3 separate regions of the Homo sapiens genome follow, and all the other regions are linked to region 2. Evidence: promoter capture Hi-C in 16 types of primary human blood cells and fetal thymus (Javierre and others, 2016). All regions are on one chromosome and are shown on one strand. The core of a region is centred on a gene start or on the middle of the fragment in contact, and the rest is flanking DNA. Distances in the headings are between cores, read along the strand shown.

Evidence for each region. The method cuts DNA at HindIII sites, captures the fragments that hold promoters and counts their contacts. A CHiCAGO score of 5 or more calls a contact.
Region 1: a fragment that was not itself captured here is called in contact with the fragment with the promoter of GIN1 in region 2 in 1 of 17 cell types (total CD4 T cells); the score reaches 7.6 in total CD4 T cells.
Region 3: a contact is called between a fragment that was not itself captured here and the fragment with the promoter of GIN1 in region 2, in 1 of 17 cell types (total CD4 T cells). The highest score is 5.2, in total CD4 T cells.

The regions. Positions count from the first base shown.
Region 1 is chr5:97,173,001-97,175,700 of GRCh38, forward strand. It overlaps RIOK2 (RIO kinase 2), which reads right to left. Exons shown (of 10, transcript NM_018343.3): 5 at 175-263. Among named protein-coding and RNA genes, the nearest start is that of RIOK2, 8.9 kb to the right of the region's middle. The HindIII fragment of the contact is 807 bases long and covers 868-1,674 here.
Region 2 is chr5:103,118,718-103,121,417 of GRCh38, forward strand. It overlaps GIN1 (gypsy retrotransposon integrase 1), which reads right to left and starts at 1,421. Exons shown (of 8, transcript NM_017676.2): 1 at 1,347-1,421. It overlaps PPIP5K2 (diphosphoinositol pentakisphosphate kinase 2), which reads left to right and starts at 1,584. Exons shown (of 31, transcript NM_001276277.3): 1 at 1,584-1,771. RefSeq lists enhancers at 557-1,058, 1,059-1,559, 1,395-1,654, 1,685-1,874, 1,925-1,984. The HindIII fragment of the contact is 9,897 bases long and covers 1,379-2,700 here.
Region 3 is chr5:95,560,572-95,563,271 of GRCh38, forward strand. All of the region lies in intron 1 of ARSK (arylsulfatase family member K), which reads left to right. Among named protein-coding and RNA genes, the nearest start is that of ARSK, 6.8 kb to the left of the region's middle. The HindIII fragment of the contact is 2,864 bases long and covers 1-2,700 here.

The DNA of each region.
Region 1 (2,700 bases), core at 21-2,520, 5.9 Mb before region 2:
GTTCATATTGTCAGAATGAAACTGGGTTTTTAATTTGTCTTTGAGTCTATTCCTTTAAATAAATTTTAACCTCCCAGAGGCAATATTTCATTAACTAAAAAAAATTTTATTAAAAACCCTGAAACTTAAATTCATTTATCAGGATTCATGGCTTTAAGAATAATGAATACTTACAGTGGATAACCATTTATGAGTTCCATGACCACTGCATGACGATTGTAATCAATTGGCTTTGGAACTGGAAATTTCCTCTCATACAATGCCTAAAATGTTGCAAAACAGGTGTAAGCTAATGAACAGGTCATTACTCTTTAAAGAACAATAAAAGTAAATATACCTTTCTACAACCAGAAAAAAAACACACAAACCTTTATAAAATTGTAGTTAACACATGGTTATTTATGCATAGCTTATTTATTCACTGCGTAGAATTAGCCACACATAAAAAGCAAATTTTAAACAAAAGTTTGAATTCACTTTTCCACAAAAAATGAACATTTACAAAATGTTATGCACTGTGCTGGGGTTACAAAAATGAATGTTAAAAAGTTTCTAAACACTCTAAAATTAGTGTCAAAAAGCCCCCAAGAAGCTTACAGTCTCTTAGGGTATATCCTTTCCTATTTTGTAAGTCTCTGACATTTGTTGAAATGTGCTCAAAATATTTAAATTGGAAACAAATTTAGGAAATACTCATCTTCGGACATATTAGGAAATGAGGCATTCTAAGAGATCAGACATTTTGGTTTATAGGGCACTGAACTTTTTCTCCAGGCCACAATATGCAATATAAATCTATTATGTGAAAAATATACACTGTTGTAGTCTGATTCAAGTGTTAAGACTCTCCATACATCTTTTCCCCTAAGCTTACTGTCTTCAATCTTACTGTTTACAAAGCCCTGTTATTACTTTCTTTAAAATACCTTAGATTTATGCCCTTTGACATTTAGAATGCTAGTATTAGGAATGGCAAAAACTGCAATTACTTTTGCACCAACATATACTTGTAAGGAGGCATATACCTCATTACTCCACAAGTGTTCTAGCTCTTGCCATCATACCTAACCTATTCTATGTACCAATACCAGACTAACCTGCTGATGTTAATATTCCATTTAAAAATATATACATTGGGATGGGCATGGAGTCTCACGTCTGTAACCCCAGCAATTTGGGAGGCCGAGGCGGGTGGATCAGTTGAGGTCAGGAGTTCGACACCAGCCTGCCAGCATGGTGAAACCCCATCTCTACTAAAAATACAAAAAAATTAGCCAGGCGTGGTGGCACATGCCTGTAGTCCCAGCTACCTGGGAGGCTGAGGCAGGAGAATCGCGTGAACCCGGGAGGCAGAGGTTGCAGTGAGTTGATATCGTGCCACTGCATTCTAGCCTGGGTGATAGAGCAAGACTACACCTCAAAAAAAGTTTTTTTTTACATTGGCTGTAAATTTTCTTTTCAGTTTGTAAATATAAACTTTTCCTGGTTTTCAAAACTCTTTAATCCACCTGTACAGTCCTAGTTCTCCCAATATTCTCTCCAATACACACCAAGAAACGCAGTCAGGACAGTCACCTCAGTGTCACCTAAACACATAGGACTCACATAGATTCATGTCATTGCCCATACCACTTCTCTGCCAAAATGCACTGTCTTAGGGTCAAATAATATCCAAGCTTCATGGCTCCACTCAGCTCCACTCACTACCTGAAACCTCCTCCATCAACTATTCTATCACTTACTGAAGTTTCTCTAAATTCAGTATATAATTAAAAAAAAAATTGTTCTTAGACTTGCAGTGGTGGCTCACGCTTATAACCCCGGTACTTTGGGAGGCCGAGGTGGGTGAATCTCTTGAGGCCAGGGGTTTGAGAGCAGCCTGGGCAACACAGCAAGGTCCTGTCTCTACAAAGCAGGCATGGTAGCACATGCCTGTGATCCTAGATACTTGGGAGGCTGAGGTGGGAGGATGGCTTGAGCCCAGGAGGTAGGGGCTGCAGTGAGCCGTGATCGTGCCACTGCACTCCAGCCTGGGTGACAGAGTGAGACCTTGTCTTGAAAATAAATAAATAAATAAATAAATAAATAAAAGGTTCTGTTTCATGTGTTATCTTCTCAACTTTAAGACACAGATCGTACTGGTTATTTCTTTGGCATCCACTCCTTCACCCTACACTACCCCAGCAATTAATTTCAAAAGGTTGTCTATTGCTTACCTTCTGTGAACAAGAACCAAACCACTTCCCACTTCCCAGATATTTTTCTTTGCTTTGTTTTTAAATACTTTTTTTCAGTGTAGACCATTTTGAGCATACCTAGACAGATCAATAGCACGTGATAAACTTAAAGATTGTGAATATTTGTCTAGAACTTGTGCTATCGCCTAGACCTCATGCTATAGCCCAATCTTTATCTTCTTGTTCCTCTCTTATGAATAATCAATACATTAAGGAGTGCATTTATGTGCAACCAGATTCCATTCCTATACCTTCAATATAAATATCCTGAAAAACACCTACTACCCTTTTGGGAAAATGTGTAAATGATCCCTACCAAGCTGCTCATTTACTGACTGAATATTACAAGATACAAACTATTAGTATAAGAAGTACATTGACATGTATGGTATCAGTATTACTAATTTATGCTGCCTTAAGAAATCTCCCATGATTAGTGAAAATTTAAGTATATAACCCACTC
Region 2 (2,700 bases), core at 171-2,670:
TTCATATACAAAAGTAACGTAAATGAAAGTTGTTTTTTTTTTTTCAAAGCCCATACATATGAGAAAATGGCTTGAAACTGTAATATTCGAGACAAATATAAATATCTTCTTATACTCTGATTGCTAAGTAAAGGTATCATTTACAAGGGGGATTAAGTGGTTTCTACTACATAAAGAAAGACTGTCCTGGGACTTCTTTGGATATGCTCATATTTTCAAGAATTTCTCTTAAAATCATTACTTAATGTACTTAAACATGTAGGAATAAGAAAAAATGAAAGTGATTGATTACAACTTGTAGTTTTGCAAGAGGAATGTCAGGGTCACATTTGGTTAAGCTTTATACACTTTGTCCCCTCCATAAAAGCAAATAAAATCAACTCATTGCTTAATTCCTTTAATAATTTTGTGTTCAATAAAGTAAGGCAGTTAGGTATTATGTCAAGATTAGGACTTAACTGTTTCACCAAGGGTTAAAAACAAAGCCACCAATTTAAGCCCCTAAAAGGTTATAATACCCGCTGGTTCCATCTTAAAATCTGCAATTTTCAATCAACATGTTAACTTGGATCGGAATTCTGACATTTGAATTATTCTATTTTAAGCTCCAAAAAATGGACACGCACAATTTTATGCAACGTCAAGGACCTGTAAATTTAAATACACTTCTCTGTAATCTGGTTCACTTCAGAGTACAAATTCATTGAACAAAAAAATGCCTTCATCGCCATATGCATTCACATGAAGCCACATGGGATAAATGCATTTCCACTTTAAAAAGTATCTACTTTGGTTCAGAAATGCCCATTTAAGAAAAACCTACACTGAGATAAAGTGGACATTTTTCTTTTAAAACTACGTGACAGGATTCCCTCTTGACCTCACGTTTCTCCCCGCCACGTATTTAAATTTGGGGCAAAATTTCTGATTAAATGACTGATCAAAGTAATGGGGAGAATTCTTCAACGCCGGCCAAAAGTGCTTAGTCTCAAACGCTGTGAGGGAGCATTTCCTAAGCTTTGGGCGACTCGTTAACGGAATCTTAAGGGCAAGGTCCAACCACACTCAGAATCAGCAGGAAAATGACCGTTTGGTAAAACTCAATTACACCCAGTAGGCACCTCCCCAGGCCCGAAACAGCACTCGCCCTTTCTGCTCAGCTAGCGCGGGACATCGCAACGCCCAAGGCCCTCCTATCTCAAAGGCGCTTGCGCAAAATCTCCCCACAGACTCAATTAAACCCTTCCTTAGGCCGGTCGAGGCGAATGGTTTTGAAATTACTGTCGGGTTACGCCTCACTTTAAAAAACAGTAGGTATGACACAGCACACCAGAACGACCACTCACCGAGGTGGTCCTAAATTCAAACGACAGATTTAAGCTTCCTCTCGTGATTTATCTCGCGCTGCCGGAAGCGGAACTACCCGGGTCCTTTAGAGGGCAGTCCTTTGGGGAACCTTGGAACCACGGTCAGAAAGGTTAGGACTGATCATTTGGCTCTTGCCGGAAATCGTTCCGCCCGGTGAGGTTTCGGCGTGAGACCCGAGGAGGGCGGGGAAGAGGCGTGACGGAGATTCCTGAGGTGTAGTAGCCTGAGGTTCCCTTATGTGGCCCTATAGCTGTTACTGAAGGAAGTAGCCTACGTCCACGCCTACAACTGAAGTCTCTTGACAAACACCTCACCCCTGCCTCCGGGATGAAAGGGGGTAACCTAGACCTGAATGGGCTTGACCATCTCACAACTGCTCGCGTGACGACCGCATTCGTGGCAGGTGAGGGCCCAAAACCGGAGGAGAACCGGAGATGCGGAACCTGATCATGCCAGGGTTGAGGCGGCTGCTGGGCTTCTGCTTTGTCTCCTGTGCTCTGCAGACCCTAAACACATGCTCCACCGAGGGGCTTGTGCTGGAGAGAATGACAGCCTGGGCGTGGAGTGACAGTACAGCTTTGAGGGTCCTTTCGCGCCTTGATTTCTCCTCCTGCTCCCCCATGGCTTCCCTTTTTCATTTCTTGGGTTCGAGACGCCAGAAATTGAAGATCAGCTAAAAGGGAACCGCTGAGCTTCTACCCCACGCTGTGCCTGGCTCCACTGAAGTGATTAGCCTCGAGTTATGGGACTGCTGTGGGTAGAGGTGGCTTTTTAAAAAATTTTCTGCCTTAGTCTTTATCCCTCTCTCTGTCAACCCCACACCCACTTTAAAATAACAAAAGCCTCATGTGTTGCAGCTTTTCATAGTAGGGACCGAGGCTGCAGGGCACTGCCGCACCTAGTCATTTGGAGGTCGTTGCAGCCTTCTGCGCCTTGAAGAAGAAGGGGCCAGGGTGATGATCCCTGGATCTCATTCACGAGGTTCTTGACCACTTCCTGGGAGATTGCGACTCTTGGTGTCCTTTGGCTAGTAGTTGTCTTGCTGGAAGGCTTAACTGTGGAAGTGGGAAGCATAGCTGACCTTAGCACGTAAAATCCTCGCTCTACACTGGGACAGGATTTTGTTTTGCTATTGAGAATTCTTAAATGAAATAGATAATTTTTTTGTCTCAGATAGATAAAATAATAACGATAGTTGCCATTAACTGAGTCTTATGTGTGCCGAGTGCTTTACATAGTTTGTCATTTATTCCTCTCAACAATTCCAGGAGGTATGTTAGATTATTATCACCATTTTACAGAGTTAGAAATGGAGGCTTTGAACAGTCAAGC
Region 3 (2,700 bases), core at 49-2,548, 7.6 Mb before region 2:
GGTGCCAAGACCATTTAATAGGGAAAGAATGATCTTTTAAACAAATGGTGCTGGAAAAAAAAAATATGAATGAAGTTGGACCCTGCCTTGCACCATACACAAACACACAAAAAAAAACTTTAAGTAAATTGATTGATTAATCAAATGTAAAACTAAAAAACTCTTACAAGAAAACATAGGTGTAAGTCTTTGTGATTGTGGATTAGGCAATTAAAAGATGGGCAAAAGATCTTTTTTTTTTTTTTTTTTTTGAAATGGAGTCTCGCTCTGTCACCCAGGCCGGAGTGCAGTGGCGCAATCTCGGCTTACTGCAACTTCTGCCTCCCAGGTTCAAGCCATTCTCCTGCCTCAGTCTCCTGAGTAGCTGGGACTACAGGTGCCCGCCACCACACCCAGATAATTTTTTAATTTTTATTTTTAGTAGAGATGGGGTTTCACCGTATTAGCCAGGATGGTCTCGATCTCCTGACCTTGGGATATACCCGCCTAGGCCTCCCAAAGTGCTGGGATTACCGGCATGAACCACCATGCCCGGCCAAAAGATCTTAATAGACATTTCTTCATAGAAGATACGCAGATGACAAATAAATACATGAAAAGATGCTCAACATCATTAATCATTCGGGAAATGTAAATCAAAACCACAGTGAGACACCAGTTATACCCACTGGGATGGTTATAATGAAAAAGACAATAACTAGAGATGGCAACAATGTGGAGGAATTGCAACCCATACCCTGCTGGTAGGATCACGCAGCCATTGGAAATCAGTTTGGCAGTTTCTCGAATGGTTAACCATAGAGTTGCTGTATAATCCAGCAGTTTTACTCCTAGGTGTATATTCAAGGGAAATGAAAATATAAGTCTACACAAAAACTTCTACATGAATGTTCATAGCATTATAATGTTCATTATACATAATGGCCAAACAGTATAAACAACCCAAATGCCCATCAATTGATAAATGGATAAATAAAATTTGGTAATATTATTCAACAATAAAAAATATGGTATATGCTACAATATAGATGAAACTTAAAAAGATTATGCTAAATGAAAGAAGCTAGTCAAAAAGGACCACATATTGTATGATTCCATTCATATGAAATGTCCAGAAAAAGCAAACATAGAGCCGGAAAGTAGGTTAGTGGTTGCCTAGGCTTCAGGAAAATAGAGAGTAATGGCTAAAGAGTGCAGAATGTCTTTTGGGGATGATGAGAACATTCTAAAATCGACTATGGTAATGGTTGCACAGCTTTCTGAATACACTAAAAACCATTGAATTGTACACTTTAAATGGATGAGTTGTTTAGTGTGTTAATTATATCTTAATAAACCCATTTTTAAAAGAACAGAAAACAGGCTAGGCACGGTGGTTCACACCTGTAATACCAGCACTTTGGGAAGCCACGGCGAGCAGATCACCTGAGGTCAGAAGTTCGAGACCAGCCTGGCCAACATGGTGAAACCCCATCTCTACTAAGAATACAAAAATTAGCCAGGCATGGTGGTGGGCACCTGCCCAGCTACTCGGGAGGCTGAGTCAGGAGAATCGCTTAAACCTAGAATACAGAGGTTGCAGTGAACCGAGATTGTGCCACTGGACTCCAGCCTTGGTGACAGGGTGAGTCTCTGTCTCAAAAAAAATAAATAAAAATTTAAAATTAAATAAATAATAGAAAAGAAGCATCTCTGCCTGGGTCTTAAAGGACAGAGGCATCTTCTGCATCCCCACTCCTACTCCTACCTCTACTCCCTGCCACTGCACCTGTATCAGTTTTAGTTTTGCTGAGGTTTCAGGAGTGGCAGGGGAGAGTAGGTACAGGAGTGTTTACTAGAGAGTCTAGTGAGAATCTCATTCAGTCTGATGGACAGATCTGGGAAGAACACTATAAGCAGTCTTGCCATGCTGACATGGCAAATTAAAGTTGCTGTTACATTCTTTTATTAGGATGATTAATTCAAACCTAAACTTCTCTGATTCTGCATGGCCCATAATGATAAGGAACCGAGTACAAGCCATGGTTCAGAAGGAGCAATCAAAATCACAAAATTGTATCTACAAAAAGACTTACCCACCCCAAGGGGGAAAAATGTGTGGACCCATGAGAATTAATTAACAAGAGCAGAATGCAGCAACTAAAGGCAGTTGGTACCATTTCTGTAACTTTTGCAGAAAGCCAATTAATGGGTCATTTTTATTTCTTAAATGCCCAATTTTAGAGTGCTTAATTTGTTTGAACCATAGGAATGGCCTTGAGAAAATTGAAATGGGCTATTAGTAAGTTATAGAAGTTATAACAAAAGCCATTTTTCAAGATTTTCTCTGCCAACTAAATTTGACAGAACTGTGTTTTCACTTATAACTGGCTATCCATTGTAAACCACATTAACATACTATGGAAAACTTACTTTCTCTCTTTTTCATCAGCCAGCTGTGTTAAGATGCCTTTCAGTTCAGAATGAAATATTCTACTGACCGTCTCCCATTGATACCATTATCAGCAGTACTAGTAGTAGCCTAGTTTTTAAATGATTTGTTAGTGTGTAAAAACTACATGAAGTCAAAAACCAAAACTTCTAGAAAATTTTTAAATATTTTCTCTAATAACATTTTGGTCTTCGTTTAGAGTATTATTGATATTTCTGATATTGAGAATATGTATATCATAATTTAAATATTTCCTAGGAACCAAATTT